Regions from separate parts of the Homo sapiens genome. Here region 1 is linked to region 2. The links are contacts of gene promoters, found by promoter capture Hi-C in blood cells and fetal thymus (Javierre and others, 2016). All regions are on one chromosome and are shown on one strand. The core of a region is centred on a gene start or on the middle of the fragment in contact, and the rest is flanking DNA. Distances in the headings are between cores, read along the strand shown.

Region 1 (7,141 bases), core at 1,708-4,207, 940 kb after region 2:
AACTTTGGGAATTTAGGGAGGAATTAGTTGAGGGCTGTCGTTACTTCCGTCACATCTCAACCCATGTCATTCTTTTCTGTCTTTATGCTTCACTCGCTGTTCCTGCCCGGTGCTTTTGCCTCTTAACCTGAGGCTTATCTGAGGCTTATTTTTTCATCTGCAGAGTGGGTATATTGTTTTCTACTTTGAAGGATGGATTGTGGGGACCAAAGGAGGTAACGACATAAGGCTCAGGTCAGAGTCTAGCACAATAGGTGCTCCACGAACATGATTTTCTCTAGTCCTTAAATTCATGCTCTCTCTGTTGTGGAGCATGTGAATTCATTCTTTCATACCTCTTTCATCATGTAACTTTTAATCCCTAATGAATGGAATTACTTACTGTAGTGTTTCTGTGGGAAAATGTTCAAATGCCAGAAAGCCATCTCTTCTCCCCACATTCCCAGCCTCACACTGATAATAAAGGGGTACCTCCCTCTCTCCTCAAAACATTGCACCCCCTTGGGGAATGGAGAGGGAAGGGCAAGTGAGAGCGCTCCAGTGGACAGATGGGGGAAGGCAGCAGCTCTGTGTTTACAGAAATTGTTAAATTATTTACACAATTTTGGTGTCCCTACCAGATCCAGAGTTGGGGATACTGCAAGAATGGCCTTTTTTATGTTACAAACTGGAATTAGATGAGTCATTTAATTGAAGCTTAAGTTTTTGTAGAAGAGTAATACTCTTTTCATATAAACTGGTGGTAATAAAAGCTTTATTATCTAGCAGTAGGCATAAAGTTTTCTTTTGGTTTAGCCCAATTATTAGTGTATTTAATCCACCCCCTTGCTACCCCCTGTTAGTTATCTTAGATTAAAAGGTCAATTCTAGCCTGGAACATACGTCTTCTTTTAAATAATTTGGCATATTTAAATTAGGAGGACATGAAGTGGCAGAATTTGAGTTAAACATTTAAATATATTTTGTGCCCTTGATTATATTAGACACCTGCTGCTTTGGAAAGTCACATGTTTAGCGAAAACGTACTTTGGTTGAAATGTTAAAATAAAAAGACCTAGCAAAGGTAACCTTGTAGTTCAGATATGACAGTTTGATTTTGGCTAGGACTGGAATGAGTGGTTTCTGTGTAGCCATTTCTTCCTCCCTGTGTAGAGAGCCTTGCTGATTTCTAAATCTTCGTAAAAGGAAACACCCTTGCTGTGGAGGCTTGCTCAGGGGAGCTGGGAGTGGAGGCGGGCTCACACATGAGCGCATGTGCAGGAACGTTTCACGGTGCAAAGGTTAAAGGCGGGTGTGGGCAGAGGGGAACCTACCACAGGTCCCATTCTGGACAGACGTGCGCAGTTGTGGTGATGTGCAAACAGCTGTACTGGAACTGGATATCCACTTTCACATCGGGCATCCGCCTAGAAGAGCAGCGGGCAGCTGATGGGAAGACCCTCAAACAACAGACAGTGCCGCAGCAGGTGCATGACTTCAGCTTTTGGGCTTTCTATCTGATCCTTGCCTCAGGAAGTTAGATCTGGTTTCTGGTATTTAGTTATTTTGAAAGTTTCCTATACTGTTGTTATTACTTTGAGTTGTGAAGATAGATGAAAAGATAGTACTTTATGAGTTAGAGTAGTTGATTCTAGAATGTAGTTTAAAAACAGCCTTTAAAAAATCTTTTTACAAAGTTCTGTTTGGGTTTTGAGAAATGAAAGAAATCTTATTTTAACCCTGTATTATGTATTCTTCATTGTTTTTGGTTTTGTATTTGGAGGAGCCCCAGTACTTGGTGGTGTTATAACACAATTCATCCCACAAACAGATCTTTGTCTTTTGTTTTGAGGTGTCTAAGGAAGAGCTTGAGGTTTCATTTGGCTACATTCCAGTATGAAACCTGAGATAAGTCCCTTGGCCTTTTATAAAAGAGAATGGTTAGAAAGACCAGAAGGTCTCTAATGAGTTATGGTGAAGAGGCTTCTTTAAACGGATTTATATAAAACCAATGAATAAAAATTTCTTTTAGTTTTGTTATAAAATATGTATGTGTGTCTGCATGCTCCAACAAGGGATTTTTACTAGTCTCTTAGTGGTCTTTAAAGCATAAAATTGAAGGATAATTTCAGTTATCCTTTTGGGGAAGAGTTATTAATGCTTGTTTTTGGTTAGGCTAAACTCTTTTGTCTTTTTCTTGTCAGTTAGTATTTGTAGAGCATCCATGATATATCTGCACTCACACACATGGACATGAGTGTGTATATGCATCTGTTGCTAGACTGGGTGCAGAGCAAGTCATGTTGCCCTTGAGTTAACATGTTAAGACCCTTAACAGCCTTTATTTTCTTGAGCTACGTACTTATGTTTGAATTTCTGATCTGGAAAGTCAGGGAAGTCATAAAGGCTTTAAAAATTATTCTCTGTTTAGATAATGTAGTTCAGACTATTGCAGGGATGAGGGGTATAGAGATTGTTTTCATTGTAAAGAGAAGGCAGAAAAAAGAGAAGGTCTGTATATAACAGAGTGTCTTTCTTTGGTTAAATCTATGCAGAGCTACTAATGAAGGGAATTTTAGGCATAGTATGAAATGAAGACTCTCTTGATACTTGTTTTGTCAGATTCTTTTTGTATTTCTCTTAAATATCTACTTTCCCAAACTAAAAAATCATCCTTTGTGTGCTTACATATTCAGTAGGGCATCTCCATTGTTGTCAGCGGAGGCAGTGTGGTAGGACTTCAGCAAATATGCAGTGTCCCCCTCCCTCACTTGTAAATTATTCTTTATCTTATATCACCAAGTATCAGCAGTTTCTCTTTAATATTAAGTCATTAAGAGTGAGTTTAATTGAGGAAAATATTTTTACTGTTATTAAATGTAGAAATGCAGCAACACCCAATGCATTTGGTTCTAAGAGATTTATTAGCATTTTTATTTTTCATCTGGGTGCTCTGTTTAAGGAATAATATAACTTATTTCAAAATATGTTAGCTTGTTCTGGCTTTTGTTTTTGTTTTACTCCTTTGGAGTCCTGAGAAGACAACATTTAGATTCAGAACTTTCTTTGTTATCTCAGTGTGTCTAATTTAGCTAACTTTTGAATGTATTTCTTGACTGCACAGAAAGTTGGAGTGACTGGTCCCCCTGATCCACAAGTCCGCTGTCCCTCTGTCATTGAGTTTGGGAAGTATGAAATTCACACCTGGTACTCCTCCCCATATCCTCAAGAATACTCAAGGTATGTTTTGAGAGACCCTTGACCTTCTGTTTTGAGATCCATAGAAGTCTGGAACTGGAAGGGATCTTGAAGATGTTTGAGTCCACCTTATCCTTTACATTTGAGGAAACTGGGGGCTTTTAAATGTCCATAATAGCAGCGGCTTTGGCAGCCACTTCATCCCAGTTTGCTTTAGATGTTCTCTTCTGTAACCTCTCAGACGCTGATGTTTAAAATGAGAAACCCGAATGCATGGTCACAATAAAAGGGGAATGCTTTTTTATTTTTTTTTTAAGAGAAATTTGTCTTCACTCCTATCACTAAGAATTTTGAAAAAGAGAAGAACTCATATATAAATTAATATAAAGTTTCAGTTGATTAGTCTTTGATGTAAATAAATATTTATAATTTGACAAACTTAATAAATGGTTTGTTTTCCCAGAAATAATTGGACAATTGGTGTAAAAATTATATATAAATAGTTTGGGCTTCCAGATATATTAATAAACATTGATCACTCACCAGCTTGGTGGAGCTAAAGTGGTTTCATGACTCAGCTCTGAAATTGGTAAGTTGTGTAACCTTAAAAGCTGCCCAACTGCTCTGTGCCTCAGTTTCCTCATCTGTAAAGCAGAGATAGTAATAGTACTTACTTCGTGGGGATATTGAGGACATTAAATGAGCTACAACATGTAAATCACTTAGAAAATGGTAAGTGCTCAATAATGTCAGTTATTATATTTTTTCTTTATGGTTAAAATTAAAAGATGAAATGAGATCAAAAAATTAAATACTAGTTAATTGTAGTGACATTAATGCTCTCTAATCTATAAACTACTTATGCCTCAGTTTCCCATTTAGTAGGGTGTTACAAGAAATAATACATCATGGTGCTTTGTGGGTTAAATACATGTTCAGAATATTCTCATCATGTAAGTTTTCACCCATGTAGTAACATTGCCTGGCCAAAATATTAGCAAAATTTATTTAGTACCTTACAATATGTTGAGTGCCTTAACATGGGTTGTTGCCAAGAAACTAGGAATAGGCCAGTATAGTTGTTAAAAGGGCCATCCAGTAAAACTTATTTATCTTTTTACTTTTTCTTTCCATATAATAACTTGCTTCTCTAGTCTACAGTCGAAGTAGAAAAATAGGGGTAAGAATGCCATTTCAGACACTGACCTCAAAGTGACAGCTAACAAAAACAGAAGAAAAAGCAAAACCCCAGGAAACTAACACACAAGCTCATGAAACACAGCAATTGAGGGCCATTTACTGTGGGATCAGTTAGCCCCAAACACTGTGGTGTATCTTTAAGGAAGCACACTGTTTCATGAGCTGACAACAATTAATGTGACTTTAAGATAAGGTTACATTGTATTTGCATTTCCATATTATACATATATATTATACATGTATGTATTGTATATGTATATATGTTAAAGGAAGGCAGGAACTTCCTCAACTACCTACAGAACTCAGCGTTCAAGTTAACTCATTCCTCAGGAATTCTGAATAGCCAAGATCTTTTATGACCGAGAAGAAATACGCCAAGGACACGCCTGTAATCCCAGCACTTTGGGAGGCCGAGATAGGCAGATCGCCTGAGGTCAGGAGTTCAAGACCAGCCTGGCCAACATGGCGAAACCCTGTCTCTACTAAAAATATAAAAATTAGCCAGGCGTGGTGGTGGGTGCCTGTAATCCCAGCTACTCAGGAGGCTGAGGTAGGAGAATCGCTTGAACCTGGGAGGCGGAGGTTGCAGTGAACTGAGATCGCGCCATTGCACTCTCGCCTGGGCAACAGGAGCGAAACTCCATCTCAAAAGAAAAGAAAATAAATATGCCAAGGAATTAATTTTTTCATCAGGTTTAAAATAAGTTGTTATGATCATTTTTTAAGTGAGCTCTTTGCAAGCTGCCCAAATCACAAGAGCACTCAACTTAGAAAAGAAAGCTTTTCCACATGTCTGTCAACTGTTCCGGAGACTATAGTACAGATAGATGGAAACCACAGGCCCCTTGTCTACTCAAGGTGGGGAGAGGAAATAGATTCAGGAATGGAAATAGAGGGCTAGCATTTACTTTTGTTCAAGAGAATGATGAGAATGGAATCATAAACTGTTTTCTTTTAAGATAGATATTTAAAGGATTTATTGAAAATGTAGCTTTTGTTCTGATGAGATTTTCATTAGAAACAGGTGTGAGGAGACTAGTTATCAGTGAAAGAATAAATAATGCCATCAAAAAATAACCAAAAAAAGTATAATAGGAACCAGTAGAAAGCAGAAACAGGATAGGAACTTGTAAAATTCATCAACTTCCTTAAGCAGTTTTAGACATTTTCTGTATATTTTTTCATCCATTGGATAGGGTTCTTTGAGTTTTCAATTAGAAAATATCCTGTAATTTTTAATAGGTTCTTGAGTAATTATGACTTTTTTTCTATCTTTATATTCGTAGTTCTCTTGGTTACATTTTTTAAAAAAATTATATTTACTTAAATGAGCTTGAAACTTGAGGTGACTAAAATGTTTGGAGATCTTACATTTTCCAAATAATAAACCTCTATTCTTAATTTTGTTAATGCCTATTTATTATTTCGTGCTAAACTGCTTATAAATTATTTTCTTATTAAAGGTTTCAAACACTGTAACGTACAAAAACAGGGCAATAGGAGCAAACAAAAATGCAAAGATCACAAGAAAAACGTCTTTTGGGAAGTGGGATTATACTTTACGGAATGTTCTTTCATATCCAGATATTTGTGTATGCATTGCCTATTAAGTAATCTTGTATCCCTGTCTTTAAAAATCAAAAACAATGAAGCAATAATACTGTTTCATTTGGTTTATCAGTAGGTTCATTGCGAAACCTACTCTGCCATTAAGAGCATGACATAGATGGGCTTAAGGCAAAAGAAATTATGATCATTGGATGCCCTCTGCTCCTGTGCTGCTTTGAGCTTAGCTTTGAGATCCTAAAGAGGTAGATTCCTAGGTGATAGAGTAGCCTAGGAAGATTCCTCTGCCTTTTGATTCTCCTCTGGACTTTATTTGATGCTTAGATTATGAGATTGTCACTAGAACCAGTTTGATTATTCTCGTCATCCCAGTTACTGAAGAAGAAACCAAATAGAATCCCTAATGCCTTTGGCTATTAAATTATTGAGTAAAATTGATGGAAGAAGAATACAAATAATAATCGTTAAGTAATAGCAGCTGTAATTACCATCCATTGAGCTTGGTACTGGACTAAGCATCTCTGGTGTAATTCTGTGAGATGAATATTACTGTATTCATTTTGCAGACCTGGTCCCAGACAGTACAGTGTATAAGTGGCAGAACTTGAAGCTCACTTCTCTCTTACTGCATAGCCATAACCATTAATCACTGGGCCTACGCTGCTCCATGTAGCATGTGTATCTAGGTTGATCTCACTTGACTTGTACCATAATCTTAGATTTAAGTAATATTTGGTATAATTTTTATTGTTACATTAAAAATTTGCTACAAGTTGACTGCACAAACTGCTACTATGTTGGGCCATGTTCAGAAGCCAGAAGGTACTGTAGAAATTCCTGAGAATAATAATTGCATCATTCTAGAAGTTAGAGAAGCATGCCCAGCTGCAGCACAGCCCTGATTCCATGGGCTGGGTTATCAGCATTGTGGCAGACTTTAGAATCAACTTCCAGTGTGGAGGTGACACTTCATGTGCAGTTGATCAAAGCCACCGTACAGCTACCTGTTTGATAGCTGAGACCTAGGTCCTGCCAGGAAGATCACTAAAAGCAGCCCCCAACAAGATTCTCTAGGGCTAGGAGTATTCATAATCTTTATAACTACATTTCATTTCCTGTAGTCTCATGTTCTTTCTATATGATAGATCTTTTTTTTCTGTGAGAGAACAGCAGTTGTTTATAATATTTCTAGAAATAT
Region 2 (7,013 bases), core at 4,175-6,674:
TAGTTGTTAAGACTTGATCTGGGCCTGGCACGGTGGCTCACGCCTGTAATCCCAGAACATTTGGAAGCCGAGGCGGGTGGATCTTGAGGTCAGGAGTTCAAGACCAGCCTGACCAACATAGTGAAACCCCGTCTCTACTAAAAAATACAAAAATTAGCCGGGCGTGGTGGTGCGTGCCTGTAATCCCAGCTACTAGGGAGGCTGAGGCAGAATTGCTTGAACCCAGGAGGTGGAGGTTGCAGTGAGCCGAGATTGTGCCACTGCACTCCAGCCTGGGCAACAGAGCAAGACTCCACCTCCAAAAAAAGACTTGATTTGTTTTTTTCTCTTGGGATTTAGGGAAGCTAAATTTTCATTTTTGTTTTTAAAACATGGCTTTATTCAATTATTTTCTCTGTATTAGCCCTTGAGGTACATAGTTGCTCATAAGGGTCAGAGATGTCCACCTCTGCTGCAAGACCAAAGTGAAACAGATCCTAAAGAAAATTTATCCCCTAGTTTATTTTTGGGGTGATGAAAATGTTCTTGGAACTAGATAGTCATGATGACTGCACAATCTTGTGATCATACTAAAAACCAAAAAAATTATACACTTTAAAAGGATGAATTTTATGGGTATGTAAACCGTACCTTAATTTTTAAAAATCTGTCACATACCAGTTCTCTGAGCTAACATCTATTTCAGGATAGCAGTACAATAAAACTGAAAGACAATTGCACTTAACTGCATTAAGGCATGAAACTCTACCTGAAGGGTTATAATCTTTCTTTTAATTCCAAGAAGCTCTATTACCACCACCCAACCTCTACCTCCCCCTCCCCAACAAAAGCATGAGAAGAGTAAAGCATGAGATCACCTGGAATTACTATCTCTAGAGCAATGGATAATTTTGCTCCCGAGGAGACATTTTTGGCTGTGAGTTGGGTGCTATTGTCATCTAGCTGGTTGAGGCAATGGGATGCTACTATTAAACATAGCGCATAGTGCAGTGCCCACACAGCAAAGAACTGTCCAGCGCAAAATGTCAAATAATTTTCTAGAGCCATGGTCCTCAAAATGTGGTCCCTATGTCACCAACAATGGCATCACCTGGGAACCTATTAGAAATACAAAATCTCAGGCCCAGCCCAGACCTACAGAACTAGCAACTCTGGGCATCTGTGTTTTAGCAAGCTCTCCAGATGATGCAGATCAACACTAAAGCATGAGAATCTCTGGTGAAGTTAGCAAACATAAAGTTAAATATCAATGCAATCAAAACACAGAGGTGAAGTTACAAAGTCACATCAGTTAGTATAGAACAAAACTAGGATTTGAACCCAGGCTGCCTAATGTCAGAACCTGTATGTACTCTTATGCTATACTATCTTTTTAAGTACTTTAACTTTTGTACATCAGTGACTTATTCTTCCATTAGAGGACAAAAATTGTTGGCAGAATCGAGTTAGGCAGAGGAGAATGGAATGGGGGAGATACCACCATAATAATTATACCACCCCCAATTCTATATACTAGTATGCATTTTATAGGCTGCCAAATAAGTAATATGAAAACAATAAGGACATATTAATGTTGCTAGGTTATCCCAAAGTGTACCGAGCCTATGTGATGACTTTTTTTGTCATAACTTGGTAGCATTGTAGACTTCGTTTTTCAGTCTCTAAAACCTGGAAAAGTGCTATCTTTTCATCGAGATTCACATACAGTTCAAGAAATTAGGCTTCACAGGTGTAATTGGCAGGGCAAATTTTGACTCAGAGGGTGGAGAGAGGAGGCACAGTGGAAATTTTCAAGCATGTCCTGCTGAACTTGTTTGCATAAACTTTGATTTGGAATTTAAGCTTAAGATGTTTCCCCTTGGTAAGATGATACTTAACTCTTTTTGTAACTCTCTCTTTCGAAAAAATTTGGAACATATGGTTCTTGGGCTAGTAGGCTGTCTGATAAAAGGGCAATTTATCTAGCATATGAGGCAATGAGACGTTCCATTGAGTTCTGTATAGGTGACAGAATCATCCCTTTAAGTACTTGAGCTTTTATTACTTTAGCCATTTCTAGTGGAATAATTTCTAAAATGTACTATATACATCTCTCCAATCTCAAACTAAATGCTATGTAGTGAAAACAAACTTTTATCTGATACTCAGGAATATAATTATGATCTTCAAAACTTGAACAGGGAGGCTCTAGAAGTACATAAGGCTGTCATCCCAAAGACGGAATCATTCAGCTCTTAGATCTTGTCTGTCACTGACAGTTGTCTGCATTTTGCTGAGTGTCAGTCACCTTCTAGCTTACTGTGTGAGAGCAAAACCCCCCACACAACCAAACTGACTAGAAGCTGACATAAAATCAAGAAAACTAATCTAAATGAGTCTTTTCTTTGGAGTGTATGTGTACATTTTTGCTTGCATTTGGTTTTAGAATTGTGCTTAGCATTAATCTGGCTTACAGATAGGAGGGGTGATATTATACATTTAAATGTCATCAAACATTGCTCATTGAAACATTTATTCTGCTTTTTATAATGACAGCTAAAAGAGAACAAACCCAGCATTTAAACTCTATTTTGAAACATGTCTTTTAAAGTGTTTCCAAATTTTAGAACTGTACATCTTCATGAACACTGCCCTCCAATTTTGTCACTGATAATCTCTAATCTTATCCAGAAATTCTCATTGATGAGTTTCCAGTGACATTTCAAAAAGCCTATTCTACAATACTATACTCCCTGACCTCTCTACAGCTGATAATGTGGATTACTCGTTTTCTTGACATTTTAGGAGATTCTAAATAGATTCTCTCATGTTGTCAGGTTCTGTCAGCAGGCCTTCAAACTTCTAAGATTTCTCCTGTATATTTTTATCAGCATTTCTCACTTAAATAAATGCAATTACTACCTACCATATTTTGTGGATACCCTTCAAATACAGACGGTCCCCAACTTAGGATGGTTTAACTTAAGACTTTTCAACTTTACAATGATGCAAGATACACATTCAGTAGAAACCATACTCTGAGTGCCCATACAACCATTATATTTTTCATTTTCAGTACAGTGTTCAATAAATTGCATTAGATATTCAACAATTTATTATAAAACACGTTTTGTGGTAGATGATTTTGCCCAATTGTAGGCTAAGGTAAGTGTTCTGAGCACGTTTAAGGTAGACCAAGCTAAGCTACCGTTTGGACGGTTAGGCGTATGAAATGCATTTTCAACTTACGGTATTTTCAACTTATGATGGGTTTACCGGGATGTAACCCCATCGCAAGTTAAGGAGCCTCTGTACACCTCTTTATTTCCATGTCTTCTTTCTCCCTAGATTTTAAACAATGTAGCCCTACTTAGATTCAATTAGCTTCATCTTTGCCTTCTGGCTGCTTCTTCTAGCATAAAGGGAAGCACTACTTGCACAGTCTCAAAAACTTAAATCTTAAGTTCCTCAGCATTCTGTTTACAGATGTACAGATTCTGCCAAATCTATTCCTTCCACAACATCAAAGAATTTAGTAATTCTTTCCTCTCTCTCTCTCCCCTGCCTAGTCAGAAACCTCAGCCACATTATACAACTTACCAGTCTTCCTCTTTTCTGAAATACAGCAGTGAAAGCCATCTCCTTGCCTGGAGGGAGAACTCATCAGAAGGGTAAGCTGCACGCTAACTACATACTACTGCTAACGATCTGAAATCCCCTAAATGGTCTGATATGCAACTGGCTACTCAAGCTCTACCAAGTCTGTTTCAGAGGACAGAAATTGATTCGTGACGTAGCCAAACTATAAAAACCTCAGACTATTTTTATTAATTTTTTTAACAACCAACGTAAGGCAATACTTCTCCAGCCTTTCCAGCAAAGTGCCTTGCACAGGATCGTGACGTCTACACTCCAGGGATCCTGACTCGTAACCCAAGACACCGCTAAAGAGAATTTCTCTCACATTCGTGTTTTACCTTTAAAAGTAATACAAATGCTGTAGTAGCCTTCATAAACACATCCGTAAACATTTAATTAACATTCTCAGCAATGAGTGAAACGGAGGCTCCCGAAGGCAGCGCGGGGTCCGCCCGGGCTCTGCGCATCCCTCCCCCTCCCCGGCCGCGCCGCGGCGAGAACGACTGGAACCCGGGCGTCGGTTCCCCTGCCGCGTCCTGAAGACCCGGCTTCAGGAAGGCGCGGCAGCTGACGTGAGAGGTGAACATGTATTTACTTCAAAGTATGAGGAATCTAAAACCGTTTAAGAATTCAAAATCAGAATCCCACGACTCTGTCCCCCAAGGCCTTCGAGTTCCATTGTTGACGCCCAGACACCTCCAGACTCCTTTAAACGTCTGCCCGACGCCTCTGACAGGCGTCCGCCCCTCGCGCACTCCCACCGCCAGCGGTGCCTTGCATCCGAAACGGGGTCCCCGGGCGCCTCCCGCATTCTCCCCACGCTCCCTCACAGGTCCTTTCAGTTCCCGGGCCGGAGCCGGGCCCGTCCTCCGCGAACGCGGCAACAAAGGCGAGGAGCGGCGGCGGGTCCTGGACGCGGGGCAGTCAGGCTCGGCCACCCCCAGAGCGCAGCGCAGCCCCAGCTGCGAGCAGCCGCACGGATCCCAGAGTCGCCCGCCGCGTTCCCAGCCCAGCCCCGGCCGGGGTCCGCCCGGAACAGCGACGCCTCAGGCCCGGCAAGTCTCTCTCGGACCCTGGGCCGAGCCTCCTCGCCCCGCCCGCCCCAGGCCCCGGATGTGACGGCACCGTCGCCCGCAGCGCTCGCCCCACGGGCCGCGCGTGGAGGGTCCCGGTAGGTGGCGGGGGGAGGGGGTCTTCCCGCCGGCCCGCGGCCCCCACGTACCCAAGTGAGGAGGCTCTCGCACAGCTCCGCCCGCTCCAGCGACTCTACGCTGAACATCTTCCCCGCCGCGGCCAGGCAGCGCCTACCGCCTGGCCAGACACCGCCGCCGCTCTGTCGGGGGATCCGGGGGCCCGCGCAGCTGACTCGGCCTCAGGCCCGCCTGCTCCTCGGATCCGGCCGCCGACTCTCGCCCAGCGCTGGCAGCGGCTCCGCACCGTCACCCCCAGCGCCCCTCCTTCTCCTTTCACTCGGGACCGCGCGCCAGCCGCGCGCGACTTCGGACACGCCCGCCGCCCCGCGTCCCCGCCCCCGGCCGCCCACACCGCTCCTCCCCAGCGCCGCCGCCCTGGCTGGAGCCGAGGCCGAGGAGCCACTGCGCACGCTCGCGCCCCGGCCGACCCGCGCCGCCGCGCCGCCGCCGCCGCCGCCGCCGCCGCCGCTGCCGCCGGGCGCGCCCCCGCCACCAGTTCGCTGCGTGTCGAGGCGAGCACGCGCTCCGCCCTGGAGGCTGCGGCGACGGGTCCTCCTCCGCCGTCCGGTCGCGCCCTCGCGGAAGCTCGGCAGTGCGCGTGCGCCCGCACCCGCACTCCAAATTAGAAAGGGGACGTCTAGTGGGTTGCCCGGGAGGGGTGGCGGGAGCGGTCCTGGAAATAATCTGTCCTCTGTCGCCGGGAACTGGCGAGGTAGTTCCTTCGCGGTGGAGAGGTACGTCCGGCGCGCGGCGGCCACGCCCACCCTATCGGGGCCCGCGGAGCCGCGGACGGCGGGGTCTGGCCTTCTTGGGGTAGCTCTGGCCGCCGAGGCTCTGCGGGGCGGCGGGAGTCGCCGCCTCCTTCCCCCCGGGCCCCTCCCTCGTCTGGAAGCCCCAGAATCGCCCCGCGGCTGTCCGGAGTCGCCGGCGACGGTGGAGGGGCCGACGCGGAGAGCGGCTCTAGGTGGGTTTGGCGGCGGCGAGGACACCGCCGCTCCCTCTAGGGTCGCTCGGAGCGTGACCCTGAGAACTCTCCTTAATGCAGGAGGGGTGTGCGCCCGCTCGCCAATCCGTAAGGACACCGGCCGACCCCGGGCCTGCGTTTCTCAGCGTTCGGAGTTGCCTTCGCTTAATGGCGAGGCGGATCGTTCTGGAGCTTCCACCTCTTTAGAGGCACGAATCTGTCTGCTGGGCTGCCGATAAATTTTTAACAGATATAGCATACGCAGAAAAGTGCATACGACATACACGTTTAAAGAAGAATTAATAAAACACCCAGATAAAAACGAAAAGGGCATTACCGGCACCCCAGGAGTTTCTCACCCATGCCCTGTGCTCCTTTCGGAGCCTGATTGTCTCCTAGCCTGACTAGTGTGATCATTTCCTTACAGCTTTACCATCTATGTGTGCATGCGATGTCGTTTTCCTTTGCCTGTTTTTGAACTTTTGCGGGTGGATCACAGTGTGTTGTTTTGTGGTTTTCAATCAGTATTAAATTGGTGTACTGTGTATGTATAGGTAATTTTAATTGTTGCCTAGTATTCCAGTGTGAATAGAACAGTGAATCCATTCTACTCTGGTTGGGCATTTTGTTCAGACTGAGGCCACTCAGAACATGGCTATAAACATTCTAGTGTACCTGGAACGTAGTGCAAATATGTTGGAATTTCCAGGACATGCACTTTGGAGTCCTTAGAGAATTGTCGATGCGTAGAGTATGCATAACTACCACCCAATGCCAAATTTTTATTTGGAGTGCAACAAAGCTAACTTCCCAAGACACACTTTGCTTTGTAGTTCCTGGAACCCCTTTCCCCCACTTTTTTTCCATTAAGAGTAGGTTTTCTCATTGAGCACTGAAAACTGCCAAGACAGCATTGAGTGGGGTTTTTTGTTGTTGTTGATGGTGGTTTTTGAGAAAGGGTCTCGTTCTGGAGTGCAGTGGCGCAATCTTGGTTCACTGCAACCTCTGCCTCCTGGGCTCAAGTGATCCTCCTACCTCAGCCTCCCAAGTAGCTGGAACCACAGGTGCAGGCCACGATGCTCAGCTAATTTTCTTATTTTTTGTAGAGAGGGGGTCTCGCTATGTTGCCCAGGCTGGTCTCAAATTCCTGGGCTCAAGTGATCCGCCCGCCTTAGCCTCCCAAAAGTGCTGGGATCAAAAGTGTGAGCCACCGAGCCTGGGTCAGCAGTGAGTTTTTA

The links. Contacts are between HindIII fragments. The CHiCAGO score rates a contact against its expected background, and 5 or more counts as called.
Region 1: a contact is called between a fragment that was not itself captured here and the fragment with the promoter of RNF170 in region 2, in 1 of 17 cell types (total CD8 T cells). The highest score is 5.5, in total CD8 T cells.

What each region holds. Positions count from the first base shown.
Region 1 is chr8:41,951,374-41,958,514 of GRCh38, reverse strand. It overlaps KAT6A (lysine acetyltransferase 6A), which reads left to right. Exons shown (of 17, transcript NM_006766.5): 9 at 3,104-3,219. Among named protein-coding and RNA genes, the nearest start is that of KAT6A-AS1, 97 kb to the left of the region's middle. RefSeq lists an enhancer at 1,478-1,527. The HindIII fragment of the contact is 4,405 bases long and covers 755-5,159 here.
Region 2 is chr8:42,895,016-42,902,028 of GRCh38, reverse strand. It overlaps RNF170 (ring finger protein 170), which reads left to right and starts at 5,424. Exons shown (of 7, transcript NM_030954.4): 1 at 5,424-5,545. It overlaps HOOK3 (hook microtubule tethering protein 3), which reads right to left and starts at 5,051. Exons shown (of 22, transcript NM_032410.4): 1 at 4,841-5,051. The coding sequence starts at 4,897. MIR4469 (microRNA 4469) reads left to right here and starts at 5,754; the gene lies at 5,754-5,832. RefSeq lists silencers at 4,433-4,492, 4,503-5,292, 5,473-5,832, 5,628-5,839 and an enhancer at 5,746-6,307. The HindIII fragment of the contact is 5,948 bases long and covers 1,845-7,013 here.